Linked DNA regions of Homo sapiens: regions 1, 2 and 3 are each linked to region 4. The links are contacts of gene promoters, found by promoter capture Hi-C in blood cells and fetal thymus (Javierre and others, 2016). All regions are on one chromosome and are shown on one strand. The core of a region is centred on a gene start or on the middle of the fragment in contact, and the rest is flanking DNA. Distances in the headings are between cores, read along the strand shown.

Evidence for each region. The method cuts DNA at HindIII sites, captures the fragments that hold promoters and counts their contacts. A CHiCAGO score of 5 or more calls a contact.
Region 1: a fragment that was not itself captured here is called in contact with the fragment with the promoter of PUM2 in region 4 in 1 of 17 cell types (M0 macrophages); the score reaches 5.0 in M0 macrophages.
Region 2: a contact is called between a fragment that was not itself captured here and the fragment with the promoter of PUM2 in region 4, in 1 of 17 cell types (M0 macrophages). The highest score is 5.1, in M0 macrophages.
Region 3: a fragment that was not itself captured here is called in contact with the fragment with the promoter of PUM2 in region 4 in 1 of 17 cell types (M0 macrophages); the score reaches 7.4 in M0 macrophages.

The regions. Positions count from the first base shown.
Region 1 is chr2:23,900,634-23,903,608 of GRCh38, forward strand. The region is part of intron 1 of ATAD2B (ATPase family AAA domain containing 2B); the gene reads right to left. It also overlaps the pseudogene RPS13P4. Among named protein-coding and RNA genes, the nearest start is that of ATAD2B, 25 kb to the right of the region's middle. The HindIII fragment of the contact is 1,022 bases long and covers 776-1,797 here.
Region 2 is chr2:16,649,567-16,652,813 of GRCh38, forward strand. All of the region lies in intron 1 of CYRIA (CYFIP related Rac1 interactor A), which reads right to left. Among named protein-coding and RNA genes, the nearest start is that of CYRIA, 15 kb to the right of the region's middle. RefSeq lists enhancers at 300-349, 390-539. The HindIII fragment of the contact is 1,073 bases long and covers 981-2,053 here.
Region 3 is chr2:16,678,015-16,681,432 of GRCh38, forward strand. No RefSeq gene overlaps it. Among named protein-coding and RNA genes, the nearest start is that of CYRIA, 14 kb to the left of the region's middle. The HindIII fragment of the contact is 1,686 bases long and covers 798-2,483 here.
Region 4 is chr2:20,349,040-20,352,255 of GRCh38, forward strand. It overlaps PUM2 (pumilio RNA binding family member 2), which reads right to left and starts at 1,805. Exons shown (of 21, transcript NM_015317.5): 1 at 1,558-1,805. RefSeq lists a silencer at 1,188-2,077 and enhancers at 1,273-1,902, 1,903-2,534, 2,238-2,327, 2,535-3,164. The HindIII fragment of the contact is 4,637 bases long and covers 1,088-3,216 here.

The sequences.
Region 1 (2,975 bases), core at 37-2,536, 3.6 Mb after region 4:
AAGCATTATTATATAACATATTCAAGACGTAGTCACTGGACCGCCTGACTGCCACCATCATGAGTCGCATGTGCACTCCTGGGAAGGGCCTGTCTCAATCGGCTCTGCCCTGTCACTGCAAGGTTCCCACTTGGCTGAAGCTGACATCTGATGACATGAAGGAGCAGACTTACAAACTGACCAAGAAGGGTCTGCCTCCCTCACAAATCAGTGTGATCCTGAGGCTCATATGGTGTTGCACAAGTATATTTTTGTGACAGGCAATACAATCTTAAGAATCCTTAAGTCCAAAAGACTTGCGCCTGATCTCCCTGAGGATCTCTACTGTTTAATTAAGCAAGCAGTTGCTATTCGAAAGCATGCTGAGAGGAACAGAAAGGATAAGGATGCCAAATTCCATCTGATTCTGATAGATGAATTCACCGACTGGCTCAATATTATTAATACAAGACCAAGCAAATCCTCCCACCCAACTGGAAACATGAGTCATCCACAGCCTCTGCCCTGGTTGCATAAGTTTGTCTACGTACTCAAGTAATAAAATGATTGTTTATCGAAAAAAAAGGAGTCACTGAGGAAGCAACATCATGTATTTTAAGCTAGAGTGTATCTGTGATACAGAAACTAGTACCTATAAACTACTGTACCAATTTAGATAGCCCAGGCCAGCATTACTCCTTCCAATCAAATTTGATCATTCATCTTCAAGACCTATCTCAGGACCCTTTTTTTTTTTTTCTTCATGAAATCTCCCTGAAGAATCTAGCCTAAATTAAGCTTATCCCTGCTACTAGTTGCAGCCCTACTATACATTTGGGCACTTGATTATTTCAACTTAGCATTATATATTTATCATCTTTAAAGTGTCATGTCCAAGTCTTGAAATTCTAGCAAGATTTTAAGCTCCTGAATTACAAAAACGTACCCTATTTTTTAAAATTCCATGATAACAAGGAAAAACAACAAACAAAATTTCTGGAAATTTGTTCACAAATTATTAATATAAATTATTAGGGGCAAGAAAGGAGGGCTCATGGTGAATTAAGTTTGGGAAACGATGAGGTCCAAGGCTTTTTGCTGCAAAACTTCTAAGAGTATTATGATAACATGCAAAATAAATCTCTAAGGATGAAATAAAGTATGTAACATTTCACAAACTTATTTGATCAAGCTCTCTTTTTTCATGGAATATCTGCAGGTACTAGTTTCCCAAACATACTCTGGAAATAAGTACTATGTACCATTGAACTGAAGACAAAAAAAAAAGTAGTAAAATATTTGAATTTTTAAAATAATCCAAGTATATAGTTACTTGAATATCAATTTAAGTGAGTTTTGCACATTTATTTATTGGCCATTTGCATATTCTACTGGCTTTCAATTCCATTCAGAAGTATTTCTCAAACTGTTGTTTACATACTACCTGAATCAAAAATCACCTGCATTACTCATTAAAAATTACAACCTGCTGGACTGGAATCTCTGGAGGTGAAACGTTTTTAACAAGGGCTTCCAAATGATTCTTAGTACACAAAAGTCTGAGGACCTCTGGCATATAACATACTTCAAGTATAATACAAAGCACATCATCCTAACTGCTACAATGTACTGGTATATTTACTTTTTTTGTCACGGGAGGGTTTCAATCTTGATTTGGCTCTATGACAGAGACCTCAGAATAAAGAGGATTACCAAAGACTCCTTCCCTCCAAAGAAATCTAGGGATTTAAGTAAAGTAAGCAACCACGATGTAAACAGGTACAAAATAATTACTTCAGCACCATTTAATTAACTTCAAGCTTTGGGAAAGCTTCTACCTACAAACCTGATGCTAACAATTCACCCTTAATAGGATGATCATAACCCTCAACCTTAACTTTTTCATCTTCCCTCAAAGCATTTTACTAGCTAATGATAACCTAACCCTTTGAGAGAAGGCGTTACCAGTTTCATGACAAAGATATTTAAAAGATTATGCAATCTACCCACAGCCATTTAGCAATCTGTGTCACAGTGATTATAATCCATGAGTAGGAAAAGTACCTCAGGCATAAGGGAAATAATTTCAGTTAACTAACATTTACTGATGACCTACTATGTACATAAGACGTGGAAGGCAGTGGTAAAAAAGATGGATAAGAACTACTTGAGGCCAAGCACAGTGGCTCACACCTGTAATCCCAACATTTTGGGAGACCCAGGCGGTAGGATCCTTGTGGCCAGGAGTTTGAAACCAGTCTGAGTAACACAGCAAGACCTGTCTCTTTAAATAAATAAATAAATAAATAACCTATTTGATGTAGACTTTAAAGGATGTTTTTGGCCGGGCATGGTGGCTCATGCCTGTAATCTCAACACTGAGAGGTTGAGGTGGGCAGATTGTTTGAGCTCAGGAGTTCGAGCCCAGCCTGGGCAAAATGGCAAGACCGTGTCTCTACAAAAATATAGAAAAATTAGCCAGGTGTGCTGGTCCATGCCTGCAGTCCCAGCTACTTGGGAGGCTGAAGTGGGAGAATCACCTGAGCCCCAGCAGTTGAGGTTGCAGTGAGCCATAATCACGTCACTGCACTCCAGTCTGGGCAACAGAGCAAGACTGTGTCTCAAAAATAAATAAATAAATAAATAAATAAATAAATGTTGTTTTCAAGTCTTCTATAGAAGTGGGAATATGTATTCTAACAACTTAATAATGGGGCACATAAAATACCAGAACACAATCCAAGGATGAGATAACTTCCAAGAGAAGTATAATAATAATAATGTAAAATCCTACAGAAATTAAATAATGAAAAGATATAGTCATCCCCACTTAAGCAACTTTTTTAATTCTAACCTCTTTGAATAGATAACTTTTTTCAATTTGTAAAAACCATTCTCTCCTTGACTTTTACAGTCCCTTAAACCATACTCATCAGCTACCATAAATAGTGACTATTATTCTGTCATAAATCTTAAAAAGTGAGGCAAAAGAACTT
Region 2 (3,247 bases), core at 267-2,766, 3.7 Mb before region 4:
CATGTTTATACAGTACAGTGGATGGTTGTACAGTACAGGGCATGGTTGTACAGTACAGGAGACAGTTGTACAGTACAGGGCATGATTGTACAGCACAGGGAACAGTTACAGTACAGGACACAGTTGTACAGTACAGGACACAGTTGTACAGTACAGGGGATGGCTATACAGCACAGGGCACGGTTGTACAGTACAGGGCATGGTTATACAGTACAGGGGACAGTTATACAGTACAGAGCACGGTTGTACAGTACCATCCTGCTGGTTGCCAGATGACTTGGATGTACCACTTCCCCTCCCTGGGAGGAGGTTACAATTGGTATAGGACTTGGACATTTGCCTTGTTTACCAAATGGAGTGAAAATAGAATAAAGAAAGCCACATCCCAGTAGAAGTTTCAACAAGAGTCTCAAGTTTCTGCCACCTTGCTCGATCGCTTCTGTCATGAGCATGACACATTCCAAGAAGCACACACCCCCTCAGCCCAGGTTCCAGAATGAGAAGAAATGTACACCAGTGCCACAGAAGCCAACCTGCAGCCCCTGACACGTGGCACAGCAAGACAGTCGTCGCCATCAGCCACTGAGATTTGGGGGTTATTTCTGACTGCAGCAAAAGTGACATACTCCACATTTTTCCAGATTAAATAATTTTATATTCACAGGTATTATGTTGGGGTCTGCTGAGACGAAATTATGTCAATTTTATGGATGACATCCCTAAGACGTAAGAGTGGTTAAGCAATGGCCCAGAAATCAACCAAAAAGAGGAGCAAAGCTATATACTCAGCTGAATGAGTATATAGTATAAAACAAGACTGACTCACTTCAATATAAAAATCTCTGCAAACTGCAGATCGATTAAAACACTAGCAAATCATAAAGGTTTCATTGGTCTCTGGGCCAGTTCCTGATATCAGGGATGATGCAACAACAGACCAAGAGGCCTACAATAGAACAAATGCAGAACCTTCTCCGTTAAGCTTCATGGGCTGGCAGCCCCAGCTCTCACACTCAGAGGCTCCACAAAGCAACCCTAAACATCTCAGAGAGACTGGATGCTCCTCTCTGGCCATGGAAAGGCCTTCTGAGCTCAACAGACAAGCTCTGTAGTGGCTCTGTGACAAGTATCTCAGAATGCCCATTACATGCCTGCAACCGGCACCGGGAATGGCAACAATCAGAGGGTGTGTTATTTCACCAGGAAATTCAAACAGAAAGACCGTGACCTTAAGGCAAGTCAAGGAGGAAGGTAGCAATTCAGGACAGAGGCTCACAGGCTTTGACATGAGTGACTAATTCAATTTTTTGCTCCTGTTGTTTTAAATTCAAACCTTATTGTTCTTTTTCTTTGCTTTATTATCTTCTTTCTCTCTTACTTTCACTTTAAAAAAACATTCCATTCAACGGGGGCGAGTGAGTCACCATAATCATTTATTTAGACGCATTTCAGGCTCGCTCTATGCTATCCGGCCCCACTTGCTGACATGTATGGAAGGCGTTCTGCAGCAGCTGATCTTTTTACCAGAAAGCCCAATTTTCAACAGCTATTTCTGGGGGGTCTGGGAGGGTTGGCACCTTGCATGTGGCTTTTCATGACAATTCACACCTTTGGTTTCCTACCCTGACCCAAGCTAGGCTGACTTCTAACACCTCCCACTCCTGTATACCCACAGATGCTGTTTTCAAGCCTCCTCGTACCTGGAGCAACAATCCTGGCCTTTGCCTTCTTATACTGTCATATCAACTACATTAAATTATCATCCTAGAAAAATTAGGTAAACATATACGTGTGCATGTTTGTAAAGCACCGCACTGCAGTGCAGAAGCCAAATACTAATATAAAATCAGGAAAAGTATTTCTGACAGCTGGAAAAAATCCCTAAACAGTTGCAGACAAACCTGGAGAAGTAAAGTTGATAAAAATTGATCTGTGAACAGACTCTATCCTTCATCCAAAACCTCTCACCAGGTAGCACCTTGTGAACATGGGTCCCGCACAGGCATGTGAGTCACGCCCTGCAATTTATACAGAGCTTTCAACTTGTTTTCAAAGCTTGTTGTCTTCAAAATATTCCTGAAAAGGAGGCAGGAAGGAAGATTAGCTCCACTGGAGGATGAGGAGATGAAGACCCAGGGAGGCTGTCCACTCACTTTGAGCAGGTCATTGGCAGACCAAGAATTAACTTTTTATTATTTTAATATCAGGTGCCGTGAATTTTTTTTTTAATTTCCCCATTTTAAAAACTTGTAATATGCAGTTGAATGCAGGAAATTCCAGTCATCTTATGTCAAGTACCTTCAGATAAGGTTCTTCAAGGAGGCTGCTTGGAATGGGTTCCATGAGGAAGGGGTTTATCTGTCAGAACAACCCCAGCACCTAAGCACAGTCAGTTCTCAAAAAACAGTTTTTGAATAAGGAAAAGGCAAGTCTTTGCTTTTTCCCTTTTTAATATTTTTAAGCAAACCTACTACCTGATCCAGCAGCTGAAAGCAATCTTCCCTCCCCAGCTCTCGTTAATGAACACTCCACAACTTTGTAACTATGGGGTCCATCCTTTGACACCCACACATACTTCTGGTTGGAAATCCATTTCTATCATTCCTTTGTGAAAATTCCCTAACATCTTCCCACAGCTTCAGGATGTCCTCTAGCTTCCGTCTTCAGTGAGCTCTTACCTACCCCCCTCACACTCTAACCCTATGAGCTACTTGTCCCACCTGCTCTAAGTTGCTACAAGTTGCTATAAGCCACTTTTTGTCCTGAGGAGCAGGATTCAGATGGGCAGAGGATACGAGGTGGGAGCTGGCAGCCTCCAGAGGTCCCTGAGCCTCACTGGGGCCAAATGCTTTTCTTAGCCATCCTCTCTCCCCTTGCCGTATACCCTATTATATTTGCTAGGATTTTTCCCTGCATTTGAAGAAATTCAAGCTCCTCTGAGATGAGCATTTTGCTCTGTAAAGGGAAAGGCCCTGCCAGGGGAGGTTCTTTTCCTTCTGGAAAGGTCTCCAGAGATGAAGTCTTCCGGGTCCCACAGACTCCCCCTGCTACCCCCTGCCACCCTCTGCGTCAGCAAAGTGGAGAGTGGAAAGTCTTGGCTGAAATCCTGACACACTTTGAGGGTTTCTCGAGAGCTTCCCTGTTCCAGCCTTCGGTCAGTTTTTATAAACACCAGTCCCCAGCAGGGATCGGATGAGCAGTTAATCCCCGGGGATTCTGAAGAAGCCCTCTTCCTCTGGACTCCAAT
Region 3 (3,418 bases), core at 391-2,890, 3.7 Mb before region 4:
CACAGATACAGTTTTTCAACCCTTGATATAGACCGTCACATTAATTACAGTTAAGTGTAGCTGTTACTTTGTCTTTCAAATTCTTATTCCTCTTAATTTATTTTTCTTATCTTATTACACAGGCTTAGATCTTCAGTACAGTGTTGAACAATGGTGCATATATCAATCACCCTTGCCTCATTTCTGAGTTTACTCAGAATATCTTTAGAATTTTACCTTTAGTTGTGGTAGTTCAATAAGTTTTTGGTAGCCACTCTTTATAAAATTAAGAACATCTTCTTTTATTTTGCGTTTTCTAAGGGTCCTTATCACAGATGATGGCAAATTTTATCTAACATTTTCTCTATATTTCCTATGGCTTTTCTCCTTTAATTTGTTTAATGTGATAAAATATACTGGTAGCATTTCTGCTGCTGAATTATTCTTGAAATCCTAAGAGAAACCCTAATTGAAGCTACTGATTTGAATTACTTTTACTTTTATTTAAGTTTTTGCAATCTCCAGGATTATTTATTGTTTCTCTTAATTGTTCTTCTGTGTCATCCATTTTCTTATATGGTTTATAATTTTGGCTATGAGGATATTTTCTATTAGAAACCCATGTGATTTGCTTTGGGTGACAGTTTCTCATTTGCATCACTGATGCTTTATGAGCTTAAGTGTACTGGACTAATCTTTATGTTAATTTATTTCTTTGGTGTCCTGGAAAACTCAACTAGCTTAGATTTGGAACCCTTCCTGTGTTTTGATTTTTTGCAGGTGTGTTTATTTTTATTCCCTGACCTAGGTGGATAAGAAGCTTCATTACAGCTTTCTTGGGTTAGATGGACAGTGATTTTCTACTTCTTTCCATTTTTTTTTTCTTTTTGAGACAGAGTCTCACTCTGTCTGTCACCCAGGCTGGAGTACAGTGGCACAATCTTGACTCACTGCAACCTCTGTCTCCTCGGTTCAGGTAATTCTCCTGCCTCAGCCTTCCGAGTAGCTGTGATTACAGGCGCATACCACCATACTCAGCTATTTTTTTTTTTAATTAGAGACGAGGTTTCACCATGTTGGAAGTCTGGTCTCTAACTCCTGGCCTTGAGTGATCCACTCACCTCAGCCTCCCAAAGTGCTGGGATTACAGGTGTGAGTCACTGCGCCCAGCTGGTGGGCAGTGATTTTTTTACAAACAACAATACCAGTGGCTGCAGAATCAATTCAGATCACTCAGTTTCAGCTGCCCACACACATGGGGCTCCTGGCTGAATTCCCCTCTCTGGGTGGCATTAATCCTTAGTGCCAGCTGTTAAGGCCTGTACCAGGTTCCAATTTCCCTGTAACACTTTTCAGTTTTAAATCTCACTTACCATTTTGAGATCCCCTCTAATTTTTTTCTCAATGTGGAATTTTCCTTTCTTGGTCTCAAATTAGGCTATGGATTTACAATTCCTAGCTGATTACTTTTTCCATTTTTAAGACGGCATGTCTACAGTGTTTTGAGTAAGGGGAGTGTTTTCCACATCAGCTCAGTTTGAATTACTTTTCAGAGGACATAAGGACGTATATATTCTGAAAGGAACACACAAAACCTTAGTAGAAAGGAAGATTCTTCTGCAGGCAGGCCAGACACTTTGTAGGTAAGTGCACAGGAAACACGGGGGTGAAGCTGGCTTATTTTTGACTCTCAAATAATTCCACATATTTAGCAAAGTGCCAACCCTTCCTGGTTACACAACTAACCCTTCCACTGCATCTTCTCTCCTTTCACTTCTGAAGTCACTAAAGGCTGTGACAAACTCTCCAGGATCAGCCCAGCTAATGCCTGCTTTGAGTGGTGCCCAGTTTGATTCCTAGGTACTGCCTCAGCCGGTAGTGTGTGCTTTGTGAAGTTCTCTGTCCATCCCTACAGGAAAACAGGATGTCTCCTCTTTGAGCTGTGGCTACAATTATTGTCCCAAATGTTCATGTCTTTAGAATTGATGTCCTCTTTTTCTCAATCTAGGTCAGTGCTTGGGCTTAATGACTTTAGCTAGAATATGCGATTGAAGTTAAAGACAGCTAAAGCTGTAAAAGACTGTTTTTCTGTCTCAAAATTTATAAACTTGAAAAAAGTTATCACTCTACTTTGACAACTTCAGGCTTTTAAGGATTTGGATTCCTTAGTCCACATTTAAAAAATTCGTTTAAGAAAATTATTCATATCCTGAGGTTACTAAGTGATGAAAATAACACTATATGAGTTCATTAGTCTCTAATATGATTTTTCCTCTCGTTTTATTACCCAATAAAGGAAGTTTTTTCAAATGATGTATTTGGGAGGCAGAAGAGAAGGAGTTATGATTGGTTTCTTCATGGCTATTATCAACCATAAGAGAAAAATTCAGCTAGTTTGCAATTTTCAAAGAAGTAGAGAGATTACTTTGTTAATGTCTATTCAGTTCATTTTCTATTTGAGGAATTGAAAATTTGAGTGTGGTTGCAGAGAAATGACTGAAGAAAGCTTAAATTGCAATATAGTGGCATTGCTTCATCTGCAGAGTTTCTTTGAAGTTGCTTGTAGTGAACGTGGGAATGTGAGTAGGAACAGTAGCCTTGCTTCCTGCAGTTGCACACTTATCCTAAATGAAGGCTTTTGGTAAAAATCACTATTATCATCAAAAAAGCATTTATGGTCTGTACATAGTTCTTTACAAAGGCTTAAAAAAGGCTCAATTAGAGATTATGCATGAATTTGTTGATGTTATTTAAGATAGACAAGAGTGATCATGTTAATCAGAGGACATACAGACACCTGAATAGGCAAGTAATTCACGAAAGAATTGTTGTATTAAAATTCTATAGGCCAAGGGGACATATTTGGGAAAAAAATCAGCACTGGAATGGGAGTCAGGAGACCTGGGTTTCAGTCCTGCTTTGATAGCACTCAGCCGAAGGAACTTGGGACTCAGCAACCTCCATGGGCTTCACTTTCCTCATACGACGTTAGACACAATTAGGAAGTCAGAAGGCAGTCGCTGAAGAAAAATTCCAGTGTGGTTTCTTTACATATGGGCAATAAAACAAACATGAGTCCCTGCCTTCCAGAAGCTCTGTTTGAGAAAAACAAGCCCATGGAAATGGTAGAAAGACTTCTGGTCAACTTTGCTAAACTGCTGCAGAATTAAGCAGAAGTTGAAGACAGGTTATCAGATATGGCTTCCAAAGGGAGGTACAGAAAAATGTATCTAGAAAGAAAGGCTGAATATGAACCGTAGAAAAAGTAATCCAGGTTGGATGATGGCATGTATAAAAGCCTGGGAGGCACTGACCCTGAGGAAGAGAAGTTTCCAGAAACCCATGAGAGTAGTTGTGCAAAGTCCCCTGTGGCCCCAGAGGACAGCAATAAGACTAGAGGTGGACACTACGGGGGGCCAGAGCCCAGCTAGACCCAAGG
Region 4 (3,216 bases), core at 555-3,054:
AAAGTGACAGCTTTGTAAGAGCAAAGTAAATGTCAGTAATTAATTTAGGCTCTTTTAAAAAGTTGAAATCTTGCTAAATGCTGAAACACCTAAGAGAACTTTGGACTCAAATTAAGGAAAGCATGTGTTAAACACAGCTTAAATTGCTGGAAAATGCGTAAGTTACTGGCAATTATAACTCAAAATAGCTAGACCTGTAAACAAAATTTAAAAACTGGACTTAAATCCTCAAGAACCAGGTTTCTGAAATAAAATTTTATTTTTAAGATTATCGTAAACCTTTTCTGCATACAAAAACTGCCCTCATGCACACCAAGAAAATTCTACACAATGCAATTTCACCAAAAATCGGAATTTTAAAGAAATTCTTGCAGCACGGAAAATGCCATCATTTTTATTCATAATGATTGAGCAAATGAAGTAAATCATTGTTTAAAAGGAGGCTAGGAAGAGAAACAAGTTGAAAATACTCATTTTTGTTTTTTTTTTTTTATTTACAGGATTCCTTAAGTCATCTTCCAATACTCCAGGTCACATGGTGAAGAGTCACCTGTTAAACACGAAATCTAACCATTAAACAAGCTTTTAAAATCCTTCGGTAACTCCCTTTATTAAAATTGTTTTCTTGACATACAGTACCTTTACAGGTATTACATTTCTCTTCACCGTTTACAAGCATTTTTCTCATGTTTTCCTTCACCAAAACATCTGCCCCGTTTTCTCAACAAGTAAAAATCTCAAAGTACTAAGTCCTAACATGATGTCTTATTGCACCTAATATGCTGGCAATACATTCCTCTCTTCAAAAGTTTACGTATGTTAGAATAAAAAGCTAAGTTAAGTAGGTTTTCTCTGGCTGTGTTTTCAGAAACAACACTAACTTTTACACGTGTTTGGGCATGAAACTTTAAACATTTTCCCCAAAACCTGACCCAATTCAGATACAAAACTACTGCTCAAATAGTAGAAGCCGCTAATCTTGTCTTTGGTTTTAATTTACATATTTTTCTGAATATCGAAATCCGTTCCTATAACCTAAACAAGGCGAATCCAAGTCACTGCTTCATACCCACATCTGTCCACGGCAAGCTTTTCCCGGACACACTCGGGCCTTTGAAAATGCCCACACTTGTTTTCATAAACCCACTCCTTCCTCTTCACCCACTTGCAATCCGCATGCTTCTCTGGGGCCACCCGGCCTCTCCCCTCTTTCCGAACCCTAGGGCCGACAGCTCGGTCTCTAACCTCCAGCGCGCCGAATCGGAGGGAGAACCGGGTCGGCGCCCCACGCCCCCGAGGCGGCGGCCCCGCAGAGGGAAGGAAGCGGGAAAGCGGCCGGCGCGGCGCCCCCTCCCCCGCACGCGCACACCCCCTTCCGGCACCCCTCCCCCTGCATTGTGCGAGCGGGCCCCAGGCCGCACCGGCCCGGGCACTCAGCAGGCCCTATCCGCCCTCCCGCTGGCGATCGGCTCCCGCCGAGGCCGCCGCACAAAGCCTGGGGAGCCATCCTCGACGGCGCCAAAGGACCGGAGAAAGAGCGAACGCGGACTGACTTACAGGGCTGCTGCGGCCGCGCTGCCTCAGCCGGGGACACCGACCGTTGGGCACACGGCGGCGTCGCTCTTGGCGGTCCTCCCCCTCCTCCGCCTTCGGTGGCGGCAATGTCTTCTTTCTCCACCTACCACCCTCCCCCCCCACCCCACCTCCTCCTTCTCCTCCCCCTCCTCCTCCGAACCACCGAAGTACCGAGGGTGAGACACAGAGACTCACAACAACATGGCTGCCACCGCCGCCTGCCCTCCCCTCCCCCCCGCCCACCGGGCGCGCGCAGTGCACCCCGGGAGAAAGGGGAGGGGGAGCGCTCACCAAGGCGCGGCTCCTTTTAATGCCTTGCGTCCCTGCTCCCGCGCTGCCGCCGCGCGGGCCGGGGGCGCCCTGCGCGTGCGCACGTTCTCCGCGCTCTCACGTGTTTGGCCGCCTCTCCGGCGTGCCCTCCCCCGCCCTCACCTTGCGGGCTCGCGCTTCCCTCCTGGGCTCCGCCGCGGCGGGCTCGGAGAGCGCAGGCGTACTGTTGCCAAACGCTGTGTTCGACTGTCTTCCCGCGTGGGGCCTCGCCTTCTGAATCTTCTTACCCTCGGCTTCCTACCCGGTTGCTCACTGTTTTCCCCCAACTGGGTGTGCGGGTGTCTGCGCCCGCGCCGCCCACCGTGGGGTACTCCTGGCATTTCGCTTCCAGAGTGCTGGCGCCCACAAGAGCCGGACGTTAATTCAGGCCTTTAACTTTCACTCTGTACCTCCCCACAACCAGACGAGGGAGATGCATCTGGGGGTGGAAGATTGTACCCTGCGAGAGGGCTGTCACTCTTCTCGTGGTTGCACCCCAGGCAGGTGGAGCCAGCTCTCAGCAAATTGTCGGCCCCCAGTGCTTGGTCCCGGTGCACACAAAGGAAACTCAGGTCGTTCTCCAGCTGGGCCAGTGATTCTCACTCGTTGGCTGTTTCTTTTTCTCGCGTACTAAGCGCTCTCTCCTTCCCCGTTTACAGGCTAGTTGGAAACTCCAAATCTGCCTTGCTGTCCTGGACCCCCATGCAAAGCAGTGGTGATTCCAGGATTCTAACCTAACCGGCTCCAGGTCACACAGCTGTAACAGGCACCGTGTCCGATTTGTTCTTGATGGTTTGTTTGCACAGCTCCTGGCTCTCCTGACATGCTGCACTTCGTAAATATTCAGGGCCTCCCGTATAGTTTGCTTAATATATGTCTTCCCTAGGCGACTGTGAGCTCCACGAGGGCAAGGACCTTGTGTTTTGTTTCACACTGTGCCCGCAAGTGCCTGTTGAATACACATGGGCTCTTCGGTTTTTAACTATTACTGAAAAATGTCTGACATTGAAATCCATCCCAAGCCCCTACCTTAGGCTCATATTTCAGGCTTCTAGATATTTTCACTTGAATTTTCTTGTCACCAAGCATGTTAAAAACTGAAGTCACACCCATCCCCTACCCCCCACTCTTGTACTGTCTCTGTAATTGGCAGTGTCACCACCTATTCATTCCCCAAATTACACCTCTGAGAACCATCCTTGTCTCTTCCTCTTACCCCGACTCCAAATATAAATAACTTACCAAGCCTCGCAGATTTTTACTTCCCAAGTAATTCTGGAGACAGTCTTCCTCTGCCTCCTCACTAATGCTAGCCTTGCTTCCCAGGTCTGG